Regions from separate parts of the Homo sapiens genome. Here regions 1 and 2 are each linked to region 3. The links are contacts of gene promoters, found by promoter capture Hi-C in human tissues and cell types (Jung and others, 2019). All regions are on one chromosome and are shown on one strand. The core of a region is centred on a gene start or on the middle of the fragment in contact, and the rest is flanking DNA. Distances in the headings are between cores, read along the strand shown. Region 1 has its middle 63 kb from the start of TPK1. Region 2 has its middle 35 kb from the start of TPK1. Region 3 holds the start of TPK1 (thiamin pyrophosphokinase 1).

The links. Contacts are between HindIII fragments. The study calls those that stand out against the background at their distance.
Region 1: a fragment that was not itself captured here is called in contact with the fragment with the promoter of TPK1 in region 3 in 1 of the 25 tissues and cell types used here (mesendoderm cells).
Region 2: a contact is called between a fragment that was not itself captured here and the fragment with the promoter of TPK1 in region 3, in 1 of the 25 tissues and cell types used here (mesendoderm cells).

Annotation. Positions count from the first base shown.
Region 1 is chr7:144,897,793-144,900,492 of GRCh38, reverse strand. No RefSeq gene overlaps it. Among named protein-coding and RNA genes, the nearest start is that of TPK1, 63 kb to the right of the region's middle. The HindIII fragment of the contact is 4,489 bases long and covers 1-2,700 here.
Region 2 is chr7:144,869,678-144,872,377 of GRCh38, reverse strand. No RefSeq gene overlaps it. Among named protein-coding and RNA genes, the nearest start is that of TPK1, 35 kb to the right of the region's middle. The HindIII fragment of the contact is 3,133 bases long and covers 1-2,700 here.
Region 3 is chr7:144,834,803-144,837,502 of GRCh38, reverse strand. It overlaps TPK1 (thiamin pyrophosphokinase 1), which reads left to right and starts at 1,450. Exons shown (of 9, transcript NM_022445.4): 1 at 1,450-1,536; 2 at 1,885-1,943. The coding sequence starts at 1,901. RefSeq lists an enhancer at 1,240-1,309 and a silencer at 1,610-1,709. The HindIII fragment of the contact is 4,228 bases long and covers 1-1,832 here.

The DNA of each region.
Region 1 (2,700 bases), core at 4-2,503, 63 kb before region 3:
TGGGGAGAAAAGGGAACACTTGTACACCCCCAGCCTTCCGAATATATATATGTATGTACAGACATTATAGAAAACAGTATGGAGTTTTCTCAAAAAATAAAAACAAACAAAACTATCATATGATCCAGGAGTCCCACTTCTGGATATATATCCAAAACAATAAAATCAGTATGTCAAAGAGACAGCTGCACTCTCATGTCCATTGCAGCATTATTCACAACAACCAAGATATGGAAACAACCTAAGTGTTCATTATAGCTGGATAAAGAAAACATGATATGTATATATATACATGCACAATGGATACTATACAGCCTTAAAAAAGAACATTCTGTCATTTACGACAACATGAATGGACCTGAAGGACGTCATGCTAGAAAAAAAAAATAATAAGCCAAGCACAGAAAGATAAATACTGCATTATCTCATTTATATAATGTAAAAAAGTTGAATTCAGAAACAGAAAGCAGAGTGGTGGTTTTCAGGGGATAAAGGTTGCAGGAAATAGGGAGATGTTGGTCAAAGTCTGCAAAGTTCAGTTATGCAGGATGAATAGGTTCTGGAGATCTAACGTACAACACAGTAACTGTAGTTAATAATACTGGATTGCAACTTACCCATGGTAACAGAAAAAAAAAATACTGTATTTGTATTAGTCTGTTCTCATGCTGCTAATAAAGACATACTCAAGACTGGGTATTTTATAAAGGAAAGAGGTTTAATGGACTCACAGTTCCACATGACTGGGGAGGTCTTACAATCATGGTGGAAGGCAAAGGAAGAGCAAAGGCACGTCTAACATGGCAGCAGGCAAGAGGGCATGTGCAGAGGAACTCCCCATAAAACCATCAGATCTCCTGAGACTTACTATCATGAGAACAGCACAGGAAAAACCCATCCCCATGATTCAATTACTTCCCACTAGTTCCCTCCCACCACATGTGAGGATTATTACAATTCAAGGTGAGATTTGGGGGTCAATATAGCCAAGCCATATCAGTATTACATACTTTAAGCTGTTAAGAAAGTAGATCTTAAATGTACTCAACACACACATATACACACACGTACAATGTTAACTATGAATTTCCAAATTTTTTTCCTTGGGGAAACTGCTACCTCCTCCTATTGAAAGAAATCTCTTCCTATGGATCCTTCTTCCCTTCACCCAATACCATGCCCAAGTGTGAATCAAGCAGGCTTAAGAGGCTCCTGGGAATGCTTCAGCCAGTAGACAATAACACCCATCATAACATTGATCTTTATTTTCTAGAGACAGGGTGTTTCTCTGTGTCCTAGGGTGGAATGTAGTGATGTGATCATAGCTCACTGCAACCTTGAACTCCTGGGCTCAAAAATGATCCTCTGCCTCTTGGGTAGCTGGGACTGCAGGTGCACACCACCACACCTGGCTAATATTTTTATTATTTTTTGTAGAGGCAGGGCCTTGCTATGTTGCCCAAGTCGATCTTGAGTTTCTGGCCTCAAATGATTCTCCTTGCCTCCACCTTTCAAAGTGCTAGGATTACAGGCATGAGCCCCCAAGTACAGCCTTCATCACGTTGATCTTTAAACAGAAGAAAGTGGGCTCCAGTGCTATTGTAAAGTGGGATCATGATTCTCCAGTCTGAGCTTCCTTTCGATATTATTTGCCAGTGAGACCTTCAGGCCTCAGAACTCCGAATGACATCAAATAGTTCTTAAGCACAGCTACTTAAAACTCTCATTAACCATTTTCAGACTACATAGTCCTATCTGATATTGAGAAAGAAAGAATTTTCTCAATTAACATCAGATTGCCCTATCCTCTGAGCCAAATGGTTTCTTTTATCCTGGAAAAGCATCATTTTCTTTTCTTTTGCTTGATGTTTGTATTTTAATTGCTCTGACCTAATAGCCTATTTTAATTATTAAGAAGAGAACACAAATATTTGTCTTAGTAGTTGTTTTCTAAGCTTTTGAAAAAAGCTCTACAAAGGAACTTTGTGATGAGGGGGATAAAAGGTCGAGGCTTTGCTGCTCATTCCATATGCCACACTAATAATATCATCTTTCAAATCTACGTAGCTCCTTATGAAGAGCTTTCCCTTGAGTTTTCCAAATCTGAGACACAGATTTTTATTTCATCTCAAAGATGATAAAACTGAGGAGTGGACCAATTAAGAAATATGCCAAAAGGCTGGGCATGGTGCCTCATGCCTGTAATCCCAACACTTTGGGAGGCCGAGACGGGTGGATTACATGAGGTCAGGAGTTCGAGACCTGCCTAGCCAACATGGTGAAACCCTACCTCTACTAAAAATACAAAAAACTTAGCCGGGCGTTGTGGCAGGCACCTGTAATCCCAGCTACTCTGGAAGCTGAGGCAGGAGAATCACTTGAATCCAGGAGGCGAAGGTTGCAATGAGCTGAAATCGTGCCACTGCACTCCAGCCTGGGCAACAAGAGTGAAACTGTCTTTAAAAAAAAAAAAAAAAAAAAAAGCAAGAGAAAAGAAATTTGCCAAAAAAAAAACCAAAATAGAAATATTACAATGCAAATACCAAATTAAGTCTTCTTTCTATGGGGGTCTAAAATGTTTTCCACGGTAGTCCTTTATCTCAGTTTTATTCACTTTTTCTGTACTAATCTAGTCCCTTTTAGAGGGTATGTTCCAAAAGAACAGAACTGTGTCTAACCAGTTTTACACAGCATCTTACG
Region 2 (2,700 bases), core at 180-2,679, 35 kb before region 3:
ATGAAAATGAACAGAAAATATTTTAGTAAGGTATAGGCAGGAGACCCTATCCAGTGCACCCCTCACTCAGGGAAAGACTAAAAATCTAACTCGAGGATTAACTAGGCTCAAAATCCAGTTGCAAGATAAAGATAGAGGAGACTTGTCGGGGCTCTCAGATTTTTGTCAATGTGTGAAATTTCCCCCGTACAGAGGTTAAGAGCACTGGCTTTAAAGTCAGGCAGCCTGGAATGTACTAATTATAAGGCTTAAGGCAAGTCGCTACCTCCTGAAGCTTAGCTCCTCATCTGTGAGATAGGGACAGTAATAGTTTCCACTTCAACAGATTGTTGTGAAAATTAAATAAGCAAATGAAATAAGTACCATCCTCAGCACTCAATAAATTACTTACTACCACTATTATTATTATTGTTATTATCTTCAAACCAGATTTGTAGAATGGGGTAAAACCGTGCCCTGAAATAATCAATCACTAGAAATATAAATAAACAATAACAATCACTAGCCATGCATTATGAATATCAGAAAATCTTGTAGAAAACTCAGAATCAGATGCAAAGCACTAAGGCAAGCTTGTCTGTGTGATTGTGAGATAGGCAGGGATGTCTGTGTGTGTGAATGTGTGTGCGTGTGTGCACATGTGTGTATACATGCGTGAGAGAGTGAGAATGTGATGGGGGAAAGCCACAAATAAATAATAGTTGCCACATTGCATTTCATTATGCACCTTATAAAATACAATCAATGGCTTTCCTGAATGTTATGGACTGAATTGTTTCACCCCAAAATTTATATGTGAAGCCCTAACCTTCAATGTTACTGAGTTTGGATACGGGGTCTTTAAGGAAGAGGTTAAGGTAAAATGAGGTCATAAGGCTGGGCCCCTAATTCAGTAGGACTGGAGTCTTTATAAAAAGAGAAAGAAGGCTGGGTGCAGTGGCTCATGCCTGTAATCCCAGAAATTTGGGAGGCCACAGCTGGCGGATCACCTGAGGTAGGGAGTTTGAGACCAGCCTGACCAACATGGAGAAACCCTATCTCTACTAAAAATATAAAATTAGCTGGGCATAGTGGCACACGCCTGTAATCCCAGCTACTCAGGAGGCTGAGGCAGGAGAATTGCTTGAACCTGGGAGACAGAGGCTGCAGTGAGCCGAGATCATGCCATTGCACTCCAGCCTGGGCAACAAGAGCAAAACTCTGTCTCAAAAAAAAAAAAAAAAGAAAAAGAAAGAAAAGAAAACAAAAAAAGAAAAGAAAAGAAAGAAGGCTGGGTGTGGTGGCCTGCAATCTCAGTGCTTTGGGAGGCTGAGGTGGGAGGATTGCTTGAGCCCAGAAGTTGGAGGCTGCATTGAGCTCTGATCGTGCGACTGCACTCCAGCCTGGGTAACAGAGTCAGACCCTGATTCAAAAAAAAAAAAAAAAAGAAGAAGAAAGAAAGAAGGAGAAGAGAAAGAAACACTGAGAGCATGGGAGGACACAGCCAAGAAGACAGCCATCTTCAATCCAAAGATAGAGGCTTCACCAGGATTCAACCCTGCCAGGCTCATACTCTTGAATGTCTAGCCTCTAAGAGCCATGAGAAAATAAATATCTGGCTGGGCACAGTGGCTCATGCCTGTAATCCTAGCACTTTGGGAGGCTGAGACGGGTGGATCACCTGAGGTCAGGAGTTCGAGACCAGCCTGACCAACATGGTGAAACACCATCTCTACTAAATATAAATAATTAGCCCAGCATGGTGGCACATGCCTGTAATCCCAGCTACTTGGGAGGCTGAGGCAGGAGAATCGCTTGAACCCGGGAGGCAGAGGTTGCTAAGCCACTCAGTCTGTGATGGTCCTAGCAGGCTACTACAGTACACTGGATAATGATCATCTTAGCCAAGCATGCCTAAAGTTCCAGCTACTTGGAAGGCTGAGGTGGGAGGATTCCTTGAGCCCAGGAGTTGGTGTCCAACCTGGGCAACACAGCAAGATCCCATCTCTTAAAAAAAAATGTAGTAGTCTTTTGTTTCTCATAAAAATGTCTACCTCTCTGAAAGCAGGTGTTTGAGAACCACAGTCTGATCCTTTTTTCTTGGTGGACCTCACCTCTTCCTGTACATACCCAAGCCTTCTTCCTACTCAGGGGCAAGGGGGAAGGCCCCACTTAATGTTCTTGTCAGTCTTTGTCTAGAGAGCAAATATTAATGGCAAATACTCTTTATCTGTTATATGTTTTTTCTAAAGTCACATGAATAGCAAATAGGAAGGCCTGATTCAAATACAAAGATGTCCAAATCTGATGACTATACCCCCCGCCCCCGCTTTTTTTTTTTTTTTTTTTTTTTGAGATGGAGTTTCACTCTTGTTGCCCAGGCTGGAGTGCAATGGCTCGATCTTAGCTCACTGCAACCTCCGCCTCCTGGGTTCAAGTGATCTTCCTACCTCAGCCTCCTGAGTAGCTGGGATTACAGGCACCTGCCAACACGCCCAGCTAATTTTTTGTATTTTTAGTAGAGATGGGGTTTCACCGTGTTGGCCAGGCTGGTCTCGAACTCCTGACCTCAGGTGATCCACCCACCTCAGCCTCCCAAAGTTCTGGGATTACAGGTGTGAGCCACCGTGCCCGGCCCTATATCCTTTCTGTTAAAACACAGCTTTCTCCCACAGTTTCACCAACCTGGCACATGGGAGACAGTCATAAAGCTTGGCTGAA
Region 3 (2,700 bases), core at 201-2,700:
GAATGTTAAGGCCGATTCATGCTGACTTCCTGGAACTAAATCAAATTGCAGTACTTCAGCAATGACAGGAAACATCCTCTCCATTTACACAGGGCTTATATCCAGTAAATGACTTTAAAATTTACTTCATCCTCTTCATTTACATAGGGCATAAGCCAAGTAACCAATGGAAACCTCTAGCTGGCATTTAAACCCCAGAACATTCTCTAACGGCACTCTTGAGCCCCTATCCTCGGGCGCTCCCAACCTATGGGGTGTACTTTCATCTTCAATAAATCTCTGTTTTTGCTTCATTCTTTCCTTGCTTTGTGCGTTTTGTCCAATTCTTTGTTCAAGACGCCAAGAACCTGGACACATCAACTGGTAACAGCTCTTCATAGGATAAACACATGGCAACCACTTGTCTATTACATGTGCAGATAGTTTCCTTGTACCCCAATTGTCTTTTAGGTTCATTAAGGTCATATTTAAACATGGACTTTTGAAATTTGTTGTAGCTAAACCCGTATATAAGCATTTAGGCTTCCTCCTTCTTTGGGTCTTTTCTTGTGGACTCCCATGCACATAGCTGTAAGCTTTTCCCCTGTTAAACTGTCTTAAGTCAATTTAACCTCTTAGGCCCAGGTGGAAACCTTAAGAGGGTAGAGGGAGATTAGGTTCGCTCACTATTGGAAAAGCCTGTATTGCAACAGTGACGCTCTGCAGCTGCAGATAGGTGGCTTAAAGTTTCTTCCAACAAAAACATTCTGTTTCCACAAAGCAAAGTAAGGAAAGCTCTTAACGGAGTGTTCCCTAAAGAAAGCTTTTTTTTTTTCTTTGAGATGGAGTCTCGCTTTGTCGCCCAGACTGGAGTGCACTGGTGTGATCTTGGCTCACTGCAACCTCCGGCCTCCCGGGTTCAAGCGATTCTCCTGCCTCGGCCTCCCGAGTAGCTGGGCCTACAGGCGCGCGCCACCATGCCCGGCTAATTTTTTGTATTTTTAGTAGAGACGAGGTTTCACCATGCTGGCCAGGCTGGTCTCGAACTTCTGACCTCATGATCCGTCCGCCTCGGCCTCCCAAACTGCTGGGATTACAGGCGTGAGTCACCGCACCCGGCCAGGAAGGAAAGCTTTTAACCCGACGGCTCAGGGAGGACACCGGTAGCAGGACTAGAAGCAGCACAGTGGAAAGTAAGTTTGGCTTGGAAGCTAGGTCAAGCATGGGTGATAGGGAATTCGCCACTTAGTTTGAAGCAAATGGCCTCCTTGTTAAAGCTGAGTGCAGAGGGCCCGGCAGCAGTACTACAGCTAGCAGAACCAGCCCAGAAAACGAAGCCTTGGAGACTTGAGGTGGGTAGTGCCGGACGCAGAGCACAGGGCGCGGCTCCCACTTGCCTCCGGCTCCCGGAAGCGGGCGGGGCCACCTCGCGTCCCGGGGGCTAAAACCTGCGAGCGAGGACCGCGCGCCAAGGCTCCTCAGCCGAGCGCCGAGCGGTCGATCGCCGTAGCTCCCGCAGCCTGCGATCTCCAGTCTGTGGCTCCTACCAGCCATTGTGTAAGTGCGACTGCTGCCGGGCGCGCGGGCCGCGGAAGGGGGCGGCCGCCTCTCGCTCCCCAGGTTCCCGGATGGTGATGGGTTCGCGGAGAGAGGCGGCAGGGGCAACCCCTCGGACCTCATAGCGGCCCGCGCGGCCGGTCTCCGGGGGCCCCCGCCCGCGGCGGTGCTGTAGGCGAGCCGTGGCGGGTCCCCAGCGCCGGGTGCTGCGCCGCAGCTCAGCTGGCTCCTGGGTCCCGGAGCGCGCCGCTGCCGAGTGCCAGGTTCAGGCGGCTCCCGTGCTGTTGGTTCTGCGCGATGTTTAATTAAAACTGAGAGTCTAACTTCACTTTTTTTTTTTTAATGCAGAGGCCAATAATCCGTTATGGAGCATGCCTTTACCCCGTTGGAGCCCCTGCTTTCCACTGGTACTGTATTTCTTTCCACGGTTTAGTGTCACTGACGTGCCCCTCCCCAGCGACGGGAACAGGTCGAAAGGACGGGGCTCTAGAGCCAGCGTGACTTCCAGCCTGGGTTCTGTCCCTGATTTCCTAGCTCTGTACCGCTAAGCATATCAGCCTCTCGCCGGTCTCATTTTCCTCATCTGAAAAATGAGCTTACGTATCAGTCCTTGCTGTGAGGACGAAATGACAAGATACAGTGTGTGTAGTCCGTGTGGAGCCCAGTAAGCGCTTCCCGGCTGTTGCGCCTCCACCAACAGCGCGAACAAATCTGGAACATAGCGGAACATTAGACATTGCAGGCATTAAGGACGGTCATCGTTGCCTGACCGTGATGCATTTTTAATCCATTGAAAGTGCCCCGAGCTTATCTAATAAAAGATTGGCAAATGATTATATCAAGTGTTTTAAATCTATATAACACTCAGGATATTTTATTCTTCTAAGATTTGAAATTACTGTGTAACCGAGTTCAGGCTGGGCTGCTCGCTGCTTGCAGAGCCAATCAACAAGGACGAAGGGCCCGGAAAGGAAAGTGACTACTTTCCAAAGCTAGCAATGGGGAAGTAGTCCAAGCTTCTGCCTTAACGAAACCATTTCAAATTTGGACAAAATGTAAGAGCTTATAAAGGGGCGCTTGGTATTGGGGCTCGGGGGCCCCAGTCTACGTGACTTGCTCAGATATTTATCTTGGGTTTTTGCCTCATCTGGTGAATGGGCTGGC